2 separate regions of the Homo sapiens genome follow, and region 1 is linked to region 2. Evidence: promoter capture Hi-C in 16 types of primary human blood cells and fetal thymus (Javierre and others, 2016). All regions are on one chromosome and are shown on one strand. Each heading gives the region's core, a stretch centred on a gene start or on the middle of the fragment in contact. The rest is flanking DNA. Distances are from core to core; before and after follow the strand shown.

What was found. Contacts are between HindIII fragments. The CHiCAGO score rates a contact against its expected background, and 5 or more counts as called.
Region 1: a fragment that was not itself captured here is called in contact with the fragment with the promoter of KHDC1 in region 2 in 1 of 17 cell types (non-activated CD4 T cells); the score reaches 5.3 in non-activated CD4 T cells.

What each region holds. Positions count from the first base shown.
Region 1 is chr6:73,645,283-73,651,574 of GRCh38, forward strand. The region is part of intron 1 of SLC17A5 (solute carrier family 17 member 5); the gene reads right to left. Among named protein-coding and RNA genes, the nearest start is that of SLC17A5, 5.6 kb to the right of the region's middle. The HindIII fragment of the contact is 3,388 bases long and covers 1,922-5,309 here.
Region 2 is chr6:73,261,704-73,268,139 of GRCh38, forward strand. KHDC1 (KH domain containing 1) reads right to left here and starts at 1,493. Exons shown (of 4, transcript NM_030568.5): 1 at 1,071-1,493. The region is part of intron 2 of LOC122539213 (KHDC1-KHDC1L); the gene reads right to left. It also overlaps the pseudogene KHDC1-AS1. RefSeq lists a silencer at 1,337-1,606. The HindIII fragment of the contact is 4,328 bases long and covers 1-2,682 here.

The sequences.
Region 1 (6,292 bases), core at 2,366-4,865, 390 kb after region 2:
TCTTACCTCGAAGAGTATCCTCAAAGGCTGGGTTTGAATCAGAAGCCATGATTAATACTTAAAGCCATCGTAAACTAAATGCATTTAAGAATCTAGAAGCAAACTTGCAGAACCTATGACAGTTGCAGCATCTGTGACAGTTGCTCAGTAGTTATCAAGCGTAAAGGGCTCACAGTAAAAAGGGAAATCAGTGAATGTACCACCATGATTAAAAAAAAAGGATGCCGGGCACAGTGGCTCACGCCTGTAATCCCAGCACTTTGGGAAGCCGAGGCGGGCGGATCACCTGAGGTCAGGAGATCGAGACCATCCTGGCTAACTCGGTGAAACCCCGTCTCTACTAAAAATACAAAAAATTAGCCGGGCGTGGTCGCGGGCGCCTGTAGTCCCAGCTACTCGGGAGGCTGAGGCAGGAGAATGGCGTGAACCCGGGAGGCGGAGCTTGCAGCGAGAGGAGATCGCGCCACTGCACTCCAGCCTGGGCGACAGAGACAGAGACTCCGTCTCAAAAAAAAAAAAAAAAAAAAAAAGAATGCAGAGTAGGTTGGAGGAACCAATAAAAGGATCATGTGAGAGGAGGAGTTTGACCTATTTATTACTCTAACTGTGGGCTTATGCATAGTTTCTCTTTTTTCTTCTTTTATTGAGTTGCAGAATTGGAGAGGGATAGGATTCAGGATGCTGACTAAGGATAATCAACCTCTTAGTAACAAAGAGAAATTAGCTAATCCAGAGTCTGAACATCTTTAAGTTTAGTAAACTCTGAGTGGCTGATAAATACCTCTTTAAAGATATAAACATGTATTTCATTAAGCAATGACATATTAAAATTAAATGAAAATATGTGTGCTTTTATTTGGTAATGACACATCAACATCATATAAATGTGTGTATGTTTTTCCCCTACTTAAGAATCCTGGTGTTTTCATTAACCTAGCATCAAAGGAGAGAATATATTTTACAGAATACAAAAGTCTTGATACTGGCTCAGATGAACTGATTTAGACTGAAACATTAATGAATATGCACAACTATACTTAGGTTTATATTAATATATTATGATCCAACTCACTTTTCTGTATGCCCTCCTATGTTTAACAACTGCTATTATTTTTTTTTCCCTGTGTAAGATTAACTTCTTTTAACAGGAAACTTTTCATTTGGCATTCTTAAATCCTTTCTTCAGGGGTACAGCTATGAAATTTATGGTACCACTACCATAGTTAGATCCAGATCTGTAAGAACTGAATTTCTAAAGTTCTATTCACATTGTCTCTATTACTAGAATCTAGGCGAATTTGCTTTCTGCTGCAACCAAATGGGCAGTTGTCCAGTTAATGACGGTTTGGATATTGTGAGGCATGTTTTGTAAAAAAACACATTTTCTTTTTTCTTTCTTTTTTTTTTTAGAGACAGGGTCTTGCTCTGTTGCCCAAGCTGGAGTACAGTGGGTGATCATAACTTTCTGTAACCTCGAACCCCTGGACTCAAGTGATCCTCTCACCTCAGCCTCTTGAGTAGCTGGGACTAAAGGCATATGGCAGCATATCTGACTAATTTTTAAATTTTTACTTGTAGAGTCGGGGTCTCACTATTTTGCCCAGGCTGGTCTTGAACTTTTGGCCTCAAGCAATCCTCCCATCTCAGCCTCCCAAAGCACTGGAATTATAGACGTGAGCCACTGTGCCCAGCAGAACATGTTTTCTTTATCATTGCTCTGTGTCAGGTGATATTACCTAGAAGTCTGGATGGGGGACTCAAAAATCTAGCTAAATGTGTGCATTAAAATGTGTTACTTTGAGCAATTTGGAGCAAGAAAAACCCAGATTTATGTACTATGTCTGTTTTGTCAATGCAGCATTTAAAAAGATCATTACCTATTTCAGCAAAGGAGTGATGAGATGTGATTTATGGTTTAAAAAGCTTATCTGGTTGATGGTTTAAAGAGCTCATCTGGACCCTGCATGGAGACTATAGAAAGGAGAAGTGTGAAGGGTGTAAGGAATGTACAGTCAGGGAGATCACTTAAAGGACTACTGTAGCTTTCCAGCTAAGAGATGAAGGTGGCTTAAACTACAGTGAAAGCAGCAGTGAAGAAAAATGGGCAGATCTGAGATGTTTAAAGGCAGAATTAACAGGCCTTGCCCAAATGTTAGATGTGGGAGTAAGTGAAGGGGAGGGATGAAGTTATTAGTAATTCTCTTACTCTAAAAAACTCTATTTTATGCTACTGTAATTTGTAATGTTATTACTTCATTCTATCCTTATTTGCAGTTATCTTATTTTACTGTACATTATTAGTTTTCCCTAAGTGATGCTTTATTGGGACTATGATATACCTTATCATGTGAATTACAAGGGGCTAGAATGTTGAGAAATGAAAGAAAGGTAAGTAAAATGATTTCAAATTACTCGTGGTATTACTTGGAAATCTGACCTACAAGTTATAGATCAGGCAACTTTAACTTTTGGATGCATAGTCAGTAATTAGAAAATAAAAAGCGGCCAGGCACGGTGGCTCACGCCTGTAATCCCAGCACTTTGGGAGGACGAAGCGGGTGGATCACCTGAGGTCAGGAGTTTGTAGACCAGCCTGGCCAACAAGGTGAAACCCCGTCTCTACTAAAAATACAAAAATTAGCCGGGCGTGGTGGCAGGCACTTGTAATCCCAGCTACTCGGGAGGTTGAGGCAGGAGACTCGCTTGAACCTGGGAGGTGGAGGTTGCAGTGAGCCGAGATCACGCCATCGCACTCCAGCCTGGGGGACAAGAGCGAGACTTCGTCTCAAAAAAAAAAGAAAATAAAAAGCCAACTCAGGTGTCACAAAGTATATTACTATGAGATTCTAAGAAATATTAAAAATAAACAATTACTAGCTAATAAAATGGTTGCTGATTACAAATATATTCAATCAGAAAATTTTTATTTCAAGAAGGTATAGCAGTAAAGAAAAACATGCCTGGGAATGTGAATATTCTTTGAAATTGATCCAACAAAAGCATGCTTGCATGACCAAGAGAGAGAACATCCATTGAGCATCAAGTTCAAAGCAAAATCATGCTTGCATAAGGAACATGGCACCCATCAAAAACAAACATCAGCTTCTAAAATGTGTTTTAAACTTAGGAATGTGTGTGGGTGTAACTGAAAGTACACAGGCTAATTTAGAGTGGGACCTGGGAATGAATCTGTTTCTGATTTTTCACTGGCTGTGTGCTTTTGTAGAAATTACTTACTAGTTTTCATTCTCAGGTTTCTTAGCTATAATATGTAGAGACCACCATCTACCCACTGGGCTGCATGGGGATTAAATGAAATACTGCAAGACATTATAGCAGGCACTTAGTAAAAAGGATTTCTTCCTCCTTTTTATCTGGAGAAAGTTATGCCAATAAGACAAAGTACTATGTACGTATATATAAAAAGGAACAAAAGAGGCACATTAATCTGATGGAGGGGACAGTGGAGACAGTCAGAGAAGGCCTCTTGGAGAAGTCTCTTCAAGGAGCAGGAAGTCACCAGTAGGGACAGATGGAACAATCCAAGCAAAAGCAGCAGCATGTACAGAGGTATGGAAATGAGACAGATAAACATAGGGAGAGCAGGACATTCTAAATGATCTGCAGTATCTAGATTATGTATTGTAGTAACTCTAAGAACTAACACTATTGAGTGGGATAGTGGGTATTAAGTTTAATAACATAAAATAATATATAATTTTTTTTTTTTTTGGAGATGGAGTCTTTCTCTGTCTCCCAGGCTGGAGTGCAGTGGCACAATCTCAGCTCACTGCAACCTCCATCTTCCAGGTTCAAGCAATTCTCCTGCCTCAGCCTCCCGAGTAGCTGGGACTACAGGCATGCATCACCACACCCAGCTAATTTTTGTATTTTTGGTAGAGACAGGATTTCACCATGTTAGCCAGGCTGGTCTCAAACTCCTGACCTCAGGCAATCCGCCCACCTTGGCATCCCAAAGCATTGGGATTACAGGCATAAGCCACCATGCCTAGACAATAATAGATAATATTTATTACAAGCCGGGCATGGTGGCTCACACTCGTAATCCCAGCACTTTGGGAAGCTGAGATGGGGAAGGATTGCTTGAGCCCAGGAGTTCAAGACCAGCCTGGGCAACATGATGAAACCCCATCTCTACAAAAAATTTCAAAATTAGCTGGTTGTGGTGTTGTGCACCTGTAATCCCAGCTACCTGGGAGGCTGAGGTGGGAGGATGGCTTGAGTCTGGGAAGTTTAGGCTGCAGTGAGCTGTGATTGTGCCACTGCACTTCAGCCTGGGCAACAGAATAAGACTCTTGTCTCAAAAAACAAATATTACTAAGCATTTTCTATACGCTTGGCACTAGTCGAAGTATTTTGCCTGAATTAGGGTTATTATAAGGATTCACTGAGTTAGTAATGTAAAATACTTAGAAGAGTGCTTGGCACAGAATAACTGTGAATTATTATGGGTTTTTTTTTCTGGAAATTAGGAATTGAGGTTATTTCTTAGGAATTGAGGTTAGTTCTCATTTGTGAGAAATTGGGATCTGGGAAAAGTAAGAAATTGTTGAAGAGAGTGGGGGCATGAGGTTCTCAGTGAAACACAGGAATGCTGAGCAGATACCCATACAGAATTGGTGGGAACAATCTGCCCTAGTGTGTAACTTCATAAGCACTGCATGCCTGTGCTCAGGAGTAGGCACTAAGAAAGCAGATAGCTGGCACCGAGATGGATGTGATGACAAAGAAGGGGGCAAGGGAATCGAGAGTATTGGCAAGAAAATAAAGTGTTGGGCTGGGTGCTGTGGCTCACGCCTGTAATCCTAGCACTTTGGGAGGCTGACGCAGGAGGATCACTTGAGCCCAGGAGTTTGAGACCAGCCTGAGCAACTAAGTGAGACCTTTTTTCTACAAAAAAAAAAAAAAAAAAGAAAGAAAAAAAGGCCGGGCACGGTGGCTCACGCCTGTAATCCCAGCACTCTGGGAGGCCGAGGCAGGTGGATCACGTGGTCAGGAGATCGAGACCATCCTGGCTAACACGGTGAAACCCCTTCTGAACTAAAAATAGAAAAAATTAGCCGGGCGTGGTGGCGGGTGCCTGTAGTCCCAGCTACTCGGAGGCTGAGGCAGGAGAATGGCATGAACCCGGGAGGCGGAGCATGCAGTGAGCCGAGATAGCGCGACTGCAGTCCAGCCTGGGCGAAAGAGCAAGACTCCGTCTCAAAAAAAAAAAAAAAAAAAAAAAAGAAAAAGAAAAAAATTAGCCAGGTGTGGTGGCACATGCCTGCAGTCCCAGTTCTTCAGGAAGCTTAGGTAGGAGGGTCACTTGAGCCTGGGAGGTTGAGGCTGCAGTAAGACCTGTTTGAGCCACTGCATTCTAGCCTGGGCAACAGAGTGAGATCCTGAAAAAAAAAAAAAAGAAAATAAAGTGTTGGACTTTGATTGTAACCCAAGAAGAAAGCAAAATGGAGAGGGCTGAAAGTTTAGGAAAATATACACTAGAATATAAAAGTCTATAAGGGCAGGAGCTTTTGTTCTGTTTTGTTTACTTCTTTGTATCTCCAGTGTCTAGAGCCGTGTATGGGAGAATTAGCATGCTGACACAATTCTACTTTCTACACTTGTATTCTACTTATGGAATAGTCATGACGGTAATTAAGACAGACAGACTCATAATCCTATCAAATCTTCAGATCTACTAATTACCAATTTACAGTAAATCAGGAGGGCAGAAGATGTTAAAGGACAACATAAGGATATAAAATTGCAGGGAAAAGAAAAGGAGCGGGGCAGGGGAAACAGATTAAAAGAGACAAAAAACATTTCAATCATTTGGAAGGTATGGACATTATTGAGATCCTGATTTGAACACACTATAAAAAATTAGGACATAGGCCCGGCCCGGTGGCTCAGGCCTGTAATCCCAGCACTTTGGGAGGCCAAGGCGGGTGGATCACCTGAGGTCAGAAGTTAGAGACCAGCCTTGCCAACATGGTGAAACTCCGTCTCTACTAAAAATACAAAAATTAGCTGGGTGTGGTGGCGTAGGCCTGTAATCCCAGCTACTCGGGAGGCTGAGGCAGGAGAATCACTTGAACCGGGGAGGCTGAGGCTGCAGTGAGCCGAGATCGCACCACTGCACTCCAGCCTGGGCGACAGAGCAAAACTCCGTCTCAAAAAAAAAAAAAAAAAAAAAAAATCAGGACATAATTGAGGAAATATGAACACTGAGTATTTTGTAAGTATTATTATTATTTTATTATTATTATTTTTTGAGACGAAGTCTTGC
Region 2 (6,436 bases), core at 243-2,742:
GAGTTTGAAACCAGCCTGGCCAAGGTGGTGAAACCCCGTCTCTGCTAAAAATACAAAAATTAGCTGGGCATGGTGGCAGGCACCTGTAATCCCAGCTACTCGGGAGGCTGAGGCAGGAGAATCACTTGAACCCGGGAGATAGAGGTTGCAGTGAGCCAAGATCGCACCACTGCACTCCAGCCTGGGTGACAGAGCAAGACTCCATCTCAAAAAAAAAAAAAAAAGCCTAGCTGGGCAAGGTGGTATGTGCCTGCGGTCTCAGCTACTCAGGAGGCTGAGGTGAGAGAATTCATTGAGCCCGGCAGGTTGGAGCTGCAGTGAGCCATGATGGTGCCACAGCCCTCCAGCCTAGGCAGCAGGAAAGAGGCCCTTCTCAAAAAAAAAAAAGCATAGACTCTAGGGCCAAATTGATGTGCTCAAGCAAAGGTTTTGCCACTTACGGTGTAACCTTGGGCCAGTTGCTTAACCTCTCTTGACCTCACTTGCCTTCTTTGTAAACCAGAGGTGATAATAGTATACCCATTTCATAGGGCTGTGGTGAGAACTAGAGGAGTTAATACATTTAAAGAGCTTAAAAGTGTCTGGTGCATAGCAAGTGCTACGTAAATGTTAAACCTTTCCTGCCCTTTTCCTCTGCTCCTCCTTTCCCTTGTTTCCTGTTACAGCATTCCTTCTTTTTTTCTTACTATTTCCTCACTATGCCTTTGCTTGAATACTAAAAAGAAACTACTGGTCCAACAGCAGGCAACACCTCATGCGATTACTTTAAATGACTTCAAAATAATACAAACATATCCAGCACAATAGTTTACATTTTAAAGGTGTTACACCCATTTTGTTTTGAGATGTGTCAACAAAACCCGTGTTTCTTTTCTTTCTATAAGTTTAAAATGTCCCCAAATCAATTAACAATAGAGGAAAGTCACACGATCTGTTTTAATTTTTCTCTTTATACTGCTATCTCCTGTTTCCCCTGTTTTTACACTTCTTTGCAGCTCACTTTCCTTATCTGTAAGATATTCTTAGGATGAACTTAGTAAGAAATGTGCAAGATCTAGATGAAGACCCACCAGATAGGATGCTCTCTTGCAGACACGCAACTCACTGACTCAACCAATGAGGAAATTATCCCACAAAGCAGATAATCCTAATGGAGGGCAGAATTCAGGACTGAGCATCTCAGTGATGCCGCCGGGAACCCAGGCTTCTCTGTCCCTTCACCGGACTAACCGAGTTCGAGACCACAGGGGGGTCAGGTAGCCAAGGCTGGGCTTTGACGGTAGGAATGAAGGAGGTGAGGGTGGCGCGCCGCAGGCCTGGGCCACTCCCTGAGTAGGGCGGCGGCGGCGGCGGCGGCGGCGGCGGCAGCGGCGGCAGCGGCTGCAGGCCTGGCCGATTGTGAGGAGACAGCGGTACCTCCTGGGCCGCGCACCCGACCCTTCCAGGGGTCCCGGCTCGCGCCGCGGCCGCGCGAGGCGCGCTCGAGCGGAAGTGGCGGCGACCCCGCCGGAAGCGCGCGGCTGCGGCGCGGGAAGCAACCCAGAGCCCTCCTCCCGCCTGCTCTGTGTAGGAGACAGCCTGCGGAGCCCACTGCCGGCGCGCAGAGAGCCCAGCAGCTCTTGAGTCCAGGAAGCAAGGGTGGGAGGAGGGACGAGCCAGTGGCAATGACCCAGACCCGGACGACCCCCATTGCTGAGCCAGCGGAGCTGCTTGGTGAGTGGCCTCCAGGCGGCATCTCTTGCTCTCAGCCCGGAGGGGGTTTTGGGGACCCAGGCTGTGGGGCTGCCTCTTCCCATGCCTTCAGTTCACCCCGATATGGGGTGAAAAACCCTAGAGACCCTCGGGTGTCGGTCCACCAAGGGAGGTCCAGACTCCCCAGGAATGTTGCCTGGGGAGGGGTGTCGCGGTGGGGGGGGGGGTGACCCAGGCCCACCCTCTGCAGGGCACTTAAAATGCTCCACATCCCCAGTGGATGCCTCCTGTCACGCATCACACCGTGGTGTATTTGAGATCCCATCTGCCACTTGGGCTGGAGGGAAATGAATGTTTTTGGGTTTCTTGTCATTGCTTCCTGCGGATTCCATTTTACTCCTGTTCGTTTATGGCCTCAAACATGAATTTGAAGAATTTTGCCCTCCCTGGCAGTATTGGGAAGAAGATTCTTTTGTTCAAGTCCGTTTGGACAATTAGATGGGAGTATTAACAAAAGGTCGGGCTGGGCACAGTGGCTCACACCTGTAATCCCAACACTTTGGGAGGCCAAAGAGCAAGGATCGCTTGAGCCCAGGAGTTCGAAACCAGCTGGGGCAACAGAGGGAGAACTTGTCTCTACAAAAAATTTAAAAATCAGCTGGGCATGGTGGTGCACGCCTGTAGCCCAAGCTATATGGGAAGCTGAGGTGGGAGGATTGCTTGAGCCCGAGAGTTTGAGGCTGCTGTGAGCTGAGATCACGCCACTGCATTCCAGCCTGGGCAACAAAGCAAGACCCTGTCTGAGGTCAACTCTGCCCCCAGGAAGGTATGGGACCTTGCAATCTTATCTAGGTTGCGTCTTTTTCATTGAAATCACGAAATCATTAAGGTAAGTAGGGAAGGGTCAAGATAGCTAAGATGAGTGAGGGGACACAGACACCAATAAAAGTTCTAACTTTGAGGACTCCTCCAGTATTCTTTTCATCCTAAAGCTTCTGGCCTATCAGCTAGTTCAGACACAGCCTAGGAGTCTCAAGCCAGTACAGGAACAAGGAGGCAGGTTGCCCTCTTGGGGCAAAGCTGTGGCCCCACCCTTGATGAAGAACGCCTGTAGGAACCCAGGACCTGTGAGCAGGTAGAGTCCTGAAGGTTTAAGATTCTGTGGAGCAGGTATGTGCAGTGCCAGTGCGCAACCAGCAACTGATGGACAGGAATAGGTAGAGCTGCTCTGAGTGCATTCCTTTGGCAAGCCTGGGCCAGAGGCACACAGGAAGGAATTAGTCATGTGGTATCATAGGCCAGGTGTGGAAGCAAATGAGCCAGAGTGGAACCAGGACCAGCCAGGGCCAAGGCAGGGAGAAGAGTTCCTCTAGCTGACATTGACAGGAAAGCAGAGTCAAAAACCTGGAATGGTTTGCTTCAAAGACTGGATGCTGCCTAATGACCTCGAAGGCCAGTGATACCTGGACTCTTGAGTGAGCAAGGCAGATTTTGGAATGAGCACACAACTTCAAGTAAGCCCGGAGATGATTACCTGTAGTTTCTGCTGCTCTTAGAGGCAGAATCATCTGAGAACTGATTGAGGAGTGCATGTATACCCCAGAGACTAGTGCACTCTAGGATAAAAGGAGTCATTCAGCCCTTACTTTTGGTTGGATGCAGGGTGTAGTTTCAATAAAATGTCACAGAACAAATTTCTAAGACCTTTAGGTTGAGTGAGTGTTAGAGTTTGTCTAGTAGTATATTTCTCATCAGTTACCTATTTAGCTGTTCTGCATAGGCCTTTGAGATAAGGAAATAAGTAAGATAAATTCTCCCCAGAAACCGCAAAACAATTATAATGTTGAGAGAAGAATGAAGTAGTAACTCTGTCTGTACTGAAGAAGGAATTCGGTGTACAGAAAAGAGGTCACTGCCTGAGGTCGGGAGTTTAAGATCAGCCTGGCCAACATGGTGAAACCCCATCTCTACAAAAATACAGAAATTAGTCGGGCATGATGGTGGGTGCCTGTAATCCCAGCTACTCGGGAGGCTGAGGCAGGAGAATTGCTAGAACCTGGGAGGTGGAAGTTGCAGTGAGCCAAGACTGTGCCATTGCACTCTGGCCTGGGCAACTGAGCGAGACTCCGTCTCAAAAAAAAAAAAAAAAAAAAAAAAGTAACGTGACTGGTCACTGTGAGCTGGATTGGAGGAAGGTGGGAATGGAGACTAAGGGCTCTTGCTGAGAGGAGTTTGAGTAAGCCTTTTTCAGGTTCTCTTGTCTTTAGCATTTAAATCCTGGACTTTATAAGTAGACTGACAGTTGTGGCATCAACACAACTAAAAGGCAGGGTTACCCTCTTAGAGTACACTTGGAAAATCAGTCTGAAATGAAAGAAACTTTCTTGGTGAAGTGGAAGTGGAAGTTTTGGTTGGGTGCAGTGGCTCATACCTGTAATCCTAACATTTTGGGAGGCAAAGGTGGGAGGATTGCTTGAGACCAGGAGTTTGAGACCAGCCTGGGCAACATGGCGAGATCCCTTTTCTTTTTCTTTTTTTTGGGGGGAGACGAGGTCTGGCTTTGTTACCCAGGCTAAAGTGCAGTGCAATGGCATTCTAACACTCACCCAACCTAAGGGTCTTAGTATCCATACAAAAAGCATTGACAAAAAGCATGCCATATGTTAAGATCAAGGTTTATCTTTGGGTGTTGAGTGCAACACTTGTTATAAGAAGCAAAATAAACTTAGAAGCAAAGGAGTGGATGAGGATCTGTCTTGGGGGAAAATCCAAAGATTAGTTGTGATCAGAGTATAGTACCTTTTGGCCTGACTTATATAACAAACTCTGCAATATGTTAAAACCTTTAATGAAAACAAGGGAGATGTTGGACTCTAATGTCACTCTTAATAATGAAATAACCAACATTTGTTGAGCTTTTTACTACATACCACAGGTGTTCTTCTAAGCTTTTTACTTTCATTAGCTCAATAGTCTTTGCCTTATCATATAATAGGCACTACTGCATGGATATATGTTGTCATTTACTGAGGAAGCAGTTATCAAGAGCCCAGACAATAAGCTGAGAAATCTGAGTTGACTTTAAAGTCCTCCTGTGTTTCAACAAGGGTGCCAAGACCATTCGATGGAGGAGGGACAGTCTTTTCAAAAAATGGTACTTGGAAAGCTGGATACCCACATACAAAAGAATGTTGTTGGCCTCCTTACCTTATACCAGATACAGAACTTAAAGTGGATCAAAGACCTAAATGTAAAACTGTTAGAAGAAAACACAGGGCAAAAGCTTCATGATGTTAGATTTGGCAATGATTTCTCAGATATGACTCCAAAAGCATATGCAACAACAACAAAAAAGATGAATTGGATTTCATCAAAATTATAAACTTTTGTGCATCAAGGAACATGAAGAAGAATGAAAAGACAACCCACAGAATGAGAAAAAAATATTTGCAAATCATGTATCTGATAAGAGATTAATATACAGGATAACAACCCAATTGAAACATAAAGTAGCCAAGTGCATTGGCACACACTTATAGTCCCTACTATTCAGGAGGCTGAGGCAGGAGGATTGCTGAGCCCAGAAGTTCGAGACCAGCGTGGGCAACATTGCAAGGCCCTATCTCAAACAATAAATTATAAGCAAAGGACTTAAATAGACATTTCTCCAAAGACGATATACAAATGGCCAATAAGAACATGAAAAGATGTTCAACATCACTAGTCATTAGGGAAATGCAGATCAAAACCACAATGAGATACCAGTTCATACCCATTAGAATGGCTGTCATCAAAAAAATGGGGCCAAGCACAGTGGCTTACGCCTGTAATCCCAGCACTCTAGGAGGCCAAGGCAGGTGGATCACCTAAGGTCAGGAGTTCAAGACCAGCCTGGCCAACATGGCAAAACCCCATCTCTACTAAAAAAAATGCAAAAATTAGCTGGTTGTGGTGGCAGGCGCCTGTAGTCCCAGCTACTTGGGAGGCTGAGGCACGAGAATTGCTTGAACCTGGGAGATAGAGGTTGGAGTGAGCTGAGATCACGCCACTGCACTCCAGACTGGGTGACAGAGGAAGACTCCATCTCAAAAAAAAGAAAAAAGAAAAGAAAAAATGGAAAAGACAAAATTGTTGGCAAAGATATTGAGAAATTTGAACCCTTGTTATTACTGGTAGGAATATAAAATGGTGCAGCCACTGTGGAAAACAGTTTAATTTGTCCTCAGAAAGTTAGAGAATTACCTTATGACCCAGCAATTCCATTTTTAGGTATATATTCAAAAGAATTGAAAGCAGAGACTGAAATAAGTGCAGATACTTGGATGCCAGTATTTATAATAGCATTATTCACAGTGGCCAAAATGTGGAACCAACCCAAGAATTGATGAGCAGATGAATGGATAAACAAAATATGATTTAGACATACAACGGAATATTATTCAGCCTTTTTTTTTTTCTGAGATGGAGTTTCGTTCTTGTTGCCCAGCCTGGAGTGCGATGGCACAATCTCAGCTCACTGCAACATCCGCCTCCTGGGTTCAAGCAATTCTCCTGCCTCAACCCCCCGAGTAGCTGGGATTACAGGCACACGCCACCATGCCCAGCTAATTTTGTATTTTTAGTAGAGACGGGGTTTTTCTCCATGTTGGTCATGTGTCCGGAATTGATGGGTTCTTGGTCTCACTGACTTCGAGAATGAAGCGCGGACCCTCACGGTGAGTGTTACAGCTCTTAAGGTGGCACA